Regions from separate parts of the Homo sapiens genome. Here regions 2 and 3 are each linked to region 1. The links are contacts of gene promoters, found by promoter capture Hi-C in blood cells and fetal thymus (Javierre and others, 2016). All regions are on one chromosome and are shown on one strand. Each heading gives the region's core, a stretch centred on a gene start or on the middle of the fragment in contact. The rest is flanking DNA. Distances are from core to core; before and after follow the strand shown.

The links. The method cuts DNA at HindIII sites, captures the fragments that hold promoters and counts their contacts. A CHiCAGO score of 5 or more calls a contact.
Region 2: the fragment with the promoter of NEURL1B here is called in contact with the fragment with the promoter of NKX2-5 in region 1 in 2 of 17 cell types (neutrophils and endothelial precursors); the score reaches 6.1 in neutrophils.
Region 3: a contact is called between the fragment with the promoter of SH3PXD2B here and the fragment with the promoter of NKX2-5 in region 1, in 2 of 17 cell types (erythroblasts and neutrophils). The highest score is 5.5, in erythroblasts.

What each region holds. Positions count from the first base shown.
Region 1 is chr5:173,233,640-173,236,538 of GRCh38, reverse strand. It overlaps NKX2-5 (NK2 homeobox 5), which reads left to right and starts at 1,333. Exons shown (of 2, transcript NM_004387.4): 1 at 1,333-1,789. The coding sequence starts at 1,456. RefSeq lists an enhancer at 2,654-2,899. The HindIII fragment of the contact is 9,083 bases long and covers 105-2,899 here.
Region 2 is chr5:172,639,843-172,642,805 of GRCh38, reverse strand. It overlaps NEURL1B (neuralized E3 ubiquitin protein ligase 1B), which reads right to left and starts at 1,543. Exons shown (of 5, transcript NM_001142651.3): 1 at 1,369-1,543. The coding sequence starts at 1,399. RefSeq lists a silencer at 1,492-1,781. The HindIII fragment of the contact is 2,251 bases long and covers 585-2,835 here.
Region 3 is chr5:172,452,950-172,456,008 of GRCh38, reverse strand. It overlaps SH3PXD2B (SH3 and PX domains 2B), which reads left to right and starts at 1,484. Exons shown (of 13, transcript NM_001017995.3): 1 at 1,484-1,731. The coding sequence starts at 1,657. RefSeq lists an enhancer at 1,997-2,518. The HindIII fragment of the contact is 9,231 bases long and covers 1-3,059 here.

The DNA of each region.
Region 1 (2,899 bases), core at 84-2,583:
GGCGTCCTTAACCTGGGCCCGCTCTGCCTGCCCGGACTCCTGAATTGTAAGCAAAATAAAACTCCTCTCTGCAGTGTTCTGGGGAATGGAGAAGACCCCAAGCTTTCATCAGACCTCCCAAGGAGTGCGGGGACCCAGAGAAATGAGGCCACCCGGGCAGGATCTGGCCATGTAGCTGGCGCTCCTGAAACTCTGGCAGATTTGTCTGACTTCTGTGCCCTACTCTACTGACCCTGGGCTAAAAATGATCATGATCACCCCACTTGCCCTGCCCTTCCCCCACGCGCCTGACCGAGCCGCAGGGGTGCCCCACTGGAAGTCCGGCCCAGAGGCCTCAGAGAAATCCTGGCCTAGCTGGGCTCAGAGGAGCCCCGCCTCCCTGAGAGCTAAACCTGGGCTAGGACCCTGAAACCTCGAGGTTGGCAGAAGCCTGAGGGCCTTGCTGCCAGGCAGGGAGGGCACGGGAAGGAGGGAGGTGGGATCGATGGCCTCCAAACAGGGGAAACAAGGTGGCTGGTAGCTGGGGCACTCCACAAGACAGGTGTCTCCTGGGAAGCTGAGCTTACCAGCTGGGATTCCTGATTTATTTCATTATTAAGGGGAGAGGCATTTCCCTGGGAGGGTACTGGCAGTGACTGATGCCCCCTGGAGTTGTGCTGTGCATAACACTACTGTAGGAGGCAGCAACTCCTACCCCACCTGGCCATCACTCACCTTGCCCTTACTTTCGTTGACTCGCCCAGAAGCACCCAGAGCCTGCGGCATGACTGACCCTGTAGGCCAAGCCAAACCAAACCCCCGAATTGTCCAGAATCTCGCCCTGCTGCTATCCCCAAAGCCAGCCCTGTCCTCCAGGCTTCTCTTCCTATTCAGACTCTCCCTCATCCCACCACCTTCAGTAATAAAGCCTTCCTCAAATCACTCTCCTCCCCACCGCTTCCCACCCCATCCTTCTCTCTCCCATGCTGGTTTGGGTGCTGAGGAATATTTCTTCAAACCCACACCCATCCAGCCCTGCCCAGAGGCCTGACTCTGCATGCCTCTGGTAGGCTTTTCAGGCTCACATTAGGGAGCAAACGCAGGCTGCAGGAGCAAAAGGAGACCCTTCCAAATGCGTCGTGGCCCCTTTAAAAAAGCTGGGCAGGGCTTTTTTTTTTTTTTTTTTTTTTTTTTTTTTTTTTTTTTTTTGCCGTATGACTATATTAGGTGACACGAAACTGCTCATCGCTCCTGTCATCGAGGCCCCTGGCCCAATGGCAGGCTGAGTCCCCCTCCTCTGGCCTGGTCCCGCCTCTCCTGCCCCTTGTGCTCAGCGCTACCTGCTGCCCGGACACATCCAGAGCTGGCCGACGGGTGCGCGGGCGGGCGGCGGCACCATGCAGGGAAGCTGCCAGGGGCCGTGGGCAGCGCCGCTTTCTGCCGCCCACCTGGCGCTGTGAGACTGGCGCTGCCACCATGTTCCCCAGCCCTGCTCTCACGCCCACGCCCTTCTCAGTCAAAGACATCCTAAACCTGGAACAGCAGCAGCGCAGCCTGGCTGCCGCCGGAGAGCTCTCTGCCCGCCTGGAGGCGACCCTGGCGCCCTCCTCCTGCATGCTGGCCGCCTTCAAGCCAGAGGCCTACGCTGGGCCCGAGGCGGCTGCGCCGGGCCTCCCAGAGCTGCGCGCAGAGCTGGGCCGCGCGCCTTCACCGGCCAAGTGTGCGTCTGCCTTTCCCGCCGCCCCCGCCTTCTATCCACGTGCCTACAGCGACCCCGACCCAGCCAAGGACCCTAGAGCCGAAAAGAAAGGTGAGGAGGAAACACAGGCCCCCTTCTCCCCTCCTGGGTCGCTTTCGTCCCCAAGAAACTCAGGGCCAGGAGGAGGAGACACGCGCCCTTGGGCCGAGGGCTGGGCTGCGGCGGGGGGTTCAGAATGTAAGATGCCTGGTGTTGTCGCCAGGCTCCCGCGCCCCGCGTCCAATCGGAGGTTCAGAGGAAATGCCGGATTGAAAGGATCAGAAGCAAGAGACCAAAAAACGTTTCCCCCCGGCCTAACAAAGCCCCGGGCGGCTTCGGCTCTGCTCCTGGGTCTGGTAGGAAGTTGAGAAATCGGTTTATGGTAGACAGAACAGAGAGACAAGCAGATAATCTCTGTTTTTAAATCTCCTTTGGATTTACGAATCTTTTTAAAGATCTGATGAGAACCGCTAAACAGAAATTGAAATGTTGCTCACCAGACAGCTTTTGCGTACAATCGGAGGAGGGTCCTGGACCTTCTTTCTGCAGCCCACCCACGACCCGGGTTTCTGGTGCCTTTCTTTCTTTGCGCCAGGAAAGTGGAGTCTGGGATCGAGGGCCTTGATTTTAAAATGGGATACTGCGGACCCTCAGGAATCTGACTTCACTTTATTTTTTCAGCACAACTTGCCGGCGCGGCCAGGGCGGAGAGGTTCCCTCGTGGAAAAGTTAGGAAATGCTGCGCTACCGCGGGCACAAGGGAGTGGACGAGATGAGTGCGGGATCATCCCGCAGGCCATCCCAGGATCGGGGAGGGAGGCCGGCCCCGCTGCAGAAAGGGGCCTTCTGGGAGACCCCCCAGCCCAAGGCAGGAGCCCGGGCGATTCCCGGGAGGCCGCAGGCGCTGGGCGAAGCGCTGGGCGAAGGGCCGCTGCCAGCCGGGAGAGAATTCATAGGTTTGTTGAGGAGCAGAGGCCTGGGAACAAATTCGGGCGGGCACGGCGGCTAGAACTGATCGCTACCAATTCGAGGAAGCCAGCAAGGCAGGTTCCGAGGCCGCCTGCCCACCCGCAGCTTCTTGGACACTGCGCAAACCCTGCTGCGGCCAGGCTGGAGCCTCCGATCACCAAACCAACACTCCCTGGCCTTCTGTTTCTTGATTCCTTAATTTTGAGATAAGAC
Region 2 (2,963 bases), core at 294-2,793, 590 kb after region 1:
AGTAAGCAGACCTGGGTTCTAATCCCACCTCTGCCACTGACTAGCTGGTGACTCTGCTGATGATTACAGCTCTCTGGGAATTTGAACGTTTGAGTGCAGTTGCTCAGAGGCTTGTAAAGTAGGAGTTGGCTCCTCTTCCATAAGCTGACCCTGGGAATCCTGGGCTCAGCACTGTCCACTTCAACCCGCTCCAGGGGAAATTATTCTTTAAGAGCATGTAATGCCTAGAAGGGAGAGCTATATGGGAGTGTTATAGCAGAGATGGGGTGATATGTCCCTCTTCCAGAACCTCACACTAAATTAACCTCACAGCTGACTTGCTTCCCCATTGAGCCGAGCCTTTGTGCTTTAGACACACACACACTCCTCTCACCTTTTGCCCAAAGGATGCTACAAAGGCCCAGCCTTAAGACAAAATACTTCTAAATACTTGGGCGTGTGAGGGGAGGGAGGGCAGAGAGACACAGGTCCCACTCCAGATTCTCCCACTACTAGCTGTGTGACCTTGGGTGAGTCATTTCACCTCTTCTGACACTCAATTTTTTTATTTGTAAAACTGGGATACACATCTTTATCGCGAAGCTTCTTTGCATACCGAGCTGGGGTATGCAAAGTGCTGGGCACTGAACCTCCACGGGCACGCGCGGGCGCGGGACCGCTGATCTGTTCCCACAATTACCATGTATTTTCCAGTAAGGCCTCCTCCTACCCCGTTAACCTGCTCCGGATCCCCTCACTCCGGTCCCAGAAATTCTGGGGCGATTTTAACTAGGGGGCGATGCGATCTGCAGCAGCGACTCCGAGGGGGCGAAGGAGTCCCCAGTGGAGCGGACACCAGAGGGGGGCGCAACCGGGGTGCGCGTGGGAACGTGGCCAAAGCACGGCAGCATGTGCCGCGGGGGCGCTGGGAGGCTGGAAACTGGGGTGCCCCTGAGAGCACCCCTCACTCTCGGCAGCTGCAGTCTTGGCACCACGGGTGGCTTCTGACCGTCGGAAGCCCTGGCGAGCCCGGCTCCAGTCACCCCCACCCAGGTCGCCTTGAGTTTGCTCATCAGCGCCCTCGGGCTGGAACAAAGGCGAGGGGGCGCGCGGCATCGCCCCAGCGGCCCTTTTTGCGCATCTGGCCAAAGCCGGGAGAATGAGGACTGGGGTCCCCAAGGTAACCAGGACGCGGTACCCGCCCTCCCGGGGCGCAAAGCCCAGCCGCGGGGCGCGCGCCGAGCTGAGGTCCGGGAGGTACCGGAGACTCCAGCCCGCTGCGAGCCGAGGGCTCCAAGGGCCGTGGGGTAGCTCTCCAGAGTCACCCAGCGGGTCCCCCGGAGGAGAGAAGCCCGGCGCCCGCCTCCCGGGCAGGGCTCCCCGGCGTACCTGGCAGGGTCCGGTGCACCGTGTTGCCCATCGCTGCGTCGGGCGCGGCGTTGGCGGCGGCGCGCTCTGGGCGCGCGGAGGCTAATTACGCGGCGGGCCAGGGACCAGGACCGGGGTCGACGCTCCGGGGCATCGCAGCTGCACGGGCGAGCCGGCGGGCGGCAGCTGGGGCGGGAGCCGGGAGGGAGGCGGCGGCGGCGCCTGCGGGAGGAGGAGGCGGAGCCACCGGCCCGGGCCCGCCGGCTCCGCCCCCGCCTCCCACCGCCTCCAACAGTGCAGGGGCGGGGCCGCGGCCGCCGCATCTTTTGAAAGTTTGCACCAGGCGGCGGGAGAAGCACAGCCAAGCCTCCCGCCCTCGCCGCTCCCGCGCCCGGGCCGGGAAGGCGCGCAGGGCAGCTGGGTGCCCTCGGGTGCCAGGATCGGCAGTCTGCTGGCCTGTCACCCATTTGTTCTAACACTTTGAGAAGGCCCACTGTGTGCCAGGCCCTCTTCCAGGCGCGGGGCCCCAGCCGGCCGAGTCCTAGCCCCGGCAGACCTCTTTGGAGAGTGCTTCGGCCCCGGGGGAACTTACACAGAGGCAGACGGGCCCCTGGGACCATGTAAAGGGCTTGGAGACAGTACACCCAGGGTTCCCGGGTTTGGGTGGAGTCTTTTCTATCCCCTAGGCCAGGTACCGAGGAATAGAAGAAACCCAGTGTCCAAAGATTGGGAAGAGGGAACCCACATTCATTAATTTATTCGCTCATTCACTAAAATATTTATTGAGCACAGTCTATGCACCAGGCACTGTGCTGGGCCGGGTAGATACAGACAAGGTCCCCACTGCCCTGGAGATGGCATGCTGAAGATAGAAATAACAAGCAATTACGATCACATTATATAATAATCAAAGCCAGGAAGAAAATAAAACAGATCCCAGTAGAGTGAGGAGATGACATTGTTTGGGGGCATAGGGAGAATCTGGGGTGGGGGCACATAAGCTCCATCTGATGGACTAGAAGGCGTCGGCCATGAGAAGAGATAGGTAGAGTGTTCCTGGCAGAGGCAGTAACAGGCATTCCTCATTCAGGCACCTGGACCACACTCAGTGGGAAGTGCAGCTGTGCCCTTCTCGAGCTCCATTTCACAGGCTGGAACGCTGAGGCCCAGGAAGTGCAATGACTTCCCCAAGAAGACCCGATTCCAAATGAGCTGTTTTTTTCAATTCTATTTTTCATGCTCTTGTATCCCTTGAGACTTTATGAAATATGTATTATTACTTCCATTTCACAGATAGGGAAATTGAGGCTCTGAGAGTGGAAGAGAGGTGCCCAAGATCTTCCAATGGTACAGGGCAAAGCTAGCCTGAAGCTATGCGAATAAAAGCGGGGTATTCAGGAGACAGCCTTCTGCATCTCCGGTGCCTTCTGCTTACAGTACATGACCCATCCCAGAGGGTTCTAGGGTCTTTAAGGCCAGCTCCAAGCTTCCACTTCCGGGAAACCTTGATTCCCCACTCCCCCCTGACGTCATATGTCTGAACATAAGATTGCCTTGCATTTGAGTTACTAATTTCTCATATTACAGGTGCTCGCCCAGTGACTTAATTTTTAACC
Region 3 (3,059 bases), core at 235-2,734, 780 kb after region 1:
GGGCTGGAGCAGGATGGTAAAGTCTGGCAAGGAAGTCAGAGGAGCAAATGGAGGGGCGGATCCAAAGTGAATCAGCCCAAATCATCCACGTGGCCTGGCCGAGGCTGAGAGCCGTCCTACCCTGGATAAGCCCACCCTTTTCCAAAGGCTGATCCTGGACCGGGGTGGGAAGTAGCTCTGTCGTGGCATGGAGAAGAGTCGTACGGTTTGTTGAAAAGAGCCCCCACTTACTGGCTGTGAAAACACTGGCCAGGAGCCTAAACCTCCCATCCATGCATTATATATTCATTTATCCATTCATTCAGCCAACATCTCCTGAAAGTGACTCAGTGCCCAGCCAGTGCTAGGAGGCACTAGATGAAGAAACGAGGAGCTGCCCCAGCCACGGCAGCTTCAACGTGTGAGATCCACCTAGAGCCAGGCAGTGACGGGCTCCATCCACCGGCTCCCTGACTCTGGACCTTCACTGATGTAATTCCTGTAAGGCACATTCTTCTGAAGTACAGTTCCCAAGTCAGAGGGTCCTCAGGCCTCATTGGAAATGTCCAAATGTCTGGAGGCCGTCCTCTGTAAAAACACCTTTTCCTCCTAGAGTCTGCCTGAGGATGCAAAGACAGCATTTGTGAAAAGCAGGGGCCACGGGGCCCAGCGAGCAGTTAAGTGCTCCGCAACTGGAAATCGATGGCCTTGCTAACAAGCACCCAGCTGCCCCTCACACATAGTCACCACCCTTTTATCCCCTTTTGTTGCTTCCATGGCAATTACATTGCACGTATGCGCATTTGTTGCAGTTTTTCTCTCCCTCACTCCCCATGTCCCAGACTGAGGCTGGGGGAACCTGGTCACGGGTCTCTTGCTCCTCCTGAATCACCAGGGCTTGGGGTGGCTTTAGGAACGCCAGCACTCATACCATGGACTGCACTGCGGAATGGCTTCACATGCACTTAATCCCGGGCGCAGCACCGGCAGGCAGGCGGTACTACTGACACGTGCTACAACATGGATGAGCCTTGAGGACATTATGCCGAGTGAAATAAGCCAGACACAAAAAGACAAACATGGTGCTTGTACTACTAGGCTCATATTATAGACGAAGAGACCCAACCCAGAGAGGTTAAGCAACTTGCCGAGGGCACAGAGTGGAAAAGCGGCAAAGCCGGGATTCGAACCCGGGTGTCCGGCTCTCCAAACTGGCGGTGGATGGCGGCTGCCGGAGCGAGAGTGCTGGAATGAATCGATACGTCAATCAGTGAACGGGCGACGGGGTCAGTCCAGTCCCCTCCCCCGGCGCGGCGGCTCAGCACCGGGACAAAGGCCGGGCGGGGGCCGGACGTGGCCGGCGGGGTTCGCGCGCGGTGGGCGGGGGTCGGGGCCGGGCCCTTTAAGGGGGGCGGGCCGGCGGCGCGGGGGGCGGTGCGGGGGGCGGTGCGGGGGGCGGTGCGGGGGGCGGGCCGGGGGCGGGCGGCGGCGGCTGGGCCCGGCTGGAGTGCGCGCCGAGCGAAGGGCGGCGGCGGTGGCGGCGGCGGCTCGTGCTCGGCCCCGGCTGCGATTGCGCTCAGCTCCAGGTTCCCTGCCCGCGGCGGCGCGCCCCCAGCGCTCCCTGCACCCCGCGCCACCCGCACCCGCGCTCGGCCCGCTGCGGGCGGAGGAGCGGCCATGCCGCCGCGGCGCAGCATCGTGGAGGTGAAGGTGCTAGACGTGCAGAAGCGGCGGGTGCCCAACAAGCATTATGTGAGTGCGGCGCGGCCCCCACGCCCCCTTGAGCCCGCGCCCCGTCGGGGGCGACCGAGGGCCCCCGGCTTGGAAAACTTCTGCCTCCAGCGCTTCCCGTCCCCTCCTCCCCTGCTCTCCCCTCGGCTCTGCGGCGGCGCTGCCCGGGTCCCTCCCGACTCCTCCTCCCTCCCTCCCCTCCCCTCCCCGCTTTTGCCTCGTTCTCCCCCTCCATCCCTTCCTCCCGCCTCGCCCCCCTACTCGCCTCCCTGCGGCTCCTCTACCCCTTTCTGTCTTCTCCGTGTCCCCCCAACTCCCGTCCTGCTCATCTGTGGAAAAGTCTGGCTCCAGCCGGTGAGGGGTCTGAGACAGAAAGCGGGAGAGACAGAAGTGCCTGTTCTCAGGCCGCCCGCCTTGCCCCTCCTTGTCCAGAGGCGCGCAGACCCGCAGTCCCCAGCCACAGGTAGCCCCTCTAGGGTTCGCCGAATTTGACTCCGTTCTTTGGCAAGAGCCGGCCTGGGCGATGGAGGAGATCTCTGGGAATGGATCATTTGAGTGGCTACGCCTTTAAAGGGTTAAAAACATCCCCTGCCCCCTCTCTCCAGTAACTTCTGTTTTAAAATGTACGAAAGTTTTCTCCTGGCATCTCCCTCTGGAACATGGGAATCTTGTTTGGAGCTGGCAAGGACTTGAGAAAATGGGACAGTAGCGTCGTTTTGCAGATAGGAAGGCTGAGGCTCAGAGGTTGCAGGTCCTGGAACATAGAGCTGCATTCGGGCTTCCCTCCCTCCAGCAGGGGTGCCTGGGGCTGACGGTGACCTGCAGGTGGAAAGTGGCTTCCGCAGCAACCTAGGGGACACGTCTGCAGATTCAGGAGGCCCTGGGACCACCTCGCAGGTTCTAGGTGGAGATAAAGGGGATGTGGGGTGATGGGCCCACATGAGGCCTTGGGGAGGGCCTCATTACAGCAGGGAAGGGGGCTATAGTGTCTCTGGCGGTGAGAAGTGGGCAGTGGCGGAGCCTGGCTGCAGAGAAGTTAACCAGGAAGGGAAAAAGAGTAAGAGGGAGGGAAAAAATCCTAACAAAGAAGTATAGAACAATGAATAGAAAAGGGCGTTGGCTGGCTAAATTAAGCTCCTTGGCCTCCCTGGAAGTCGTCTTCAGATCTTTTTTTTTTAAGAACTAATTCTTACAAAGTAGATCTGCATGCCTTCCGTGAATAGCCTGTGAAATTCTGAAAGGAGATAGCCGGGAACCCACTCCGCGCTCTCCACAAGAAAGGGTGTGCTGTGTGAGTCTGTATTGTTATTGGCTGGGCAGCCAGTTATTCAGCCCTTAGCCAGGCGGTG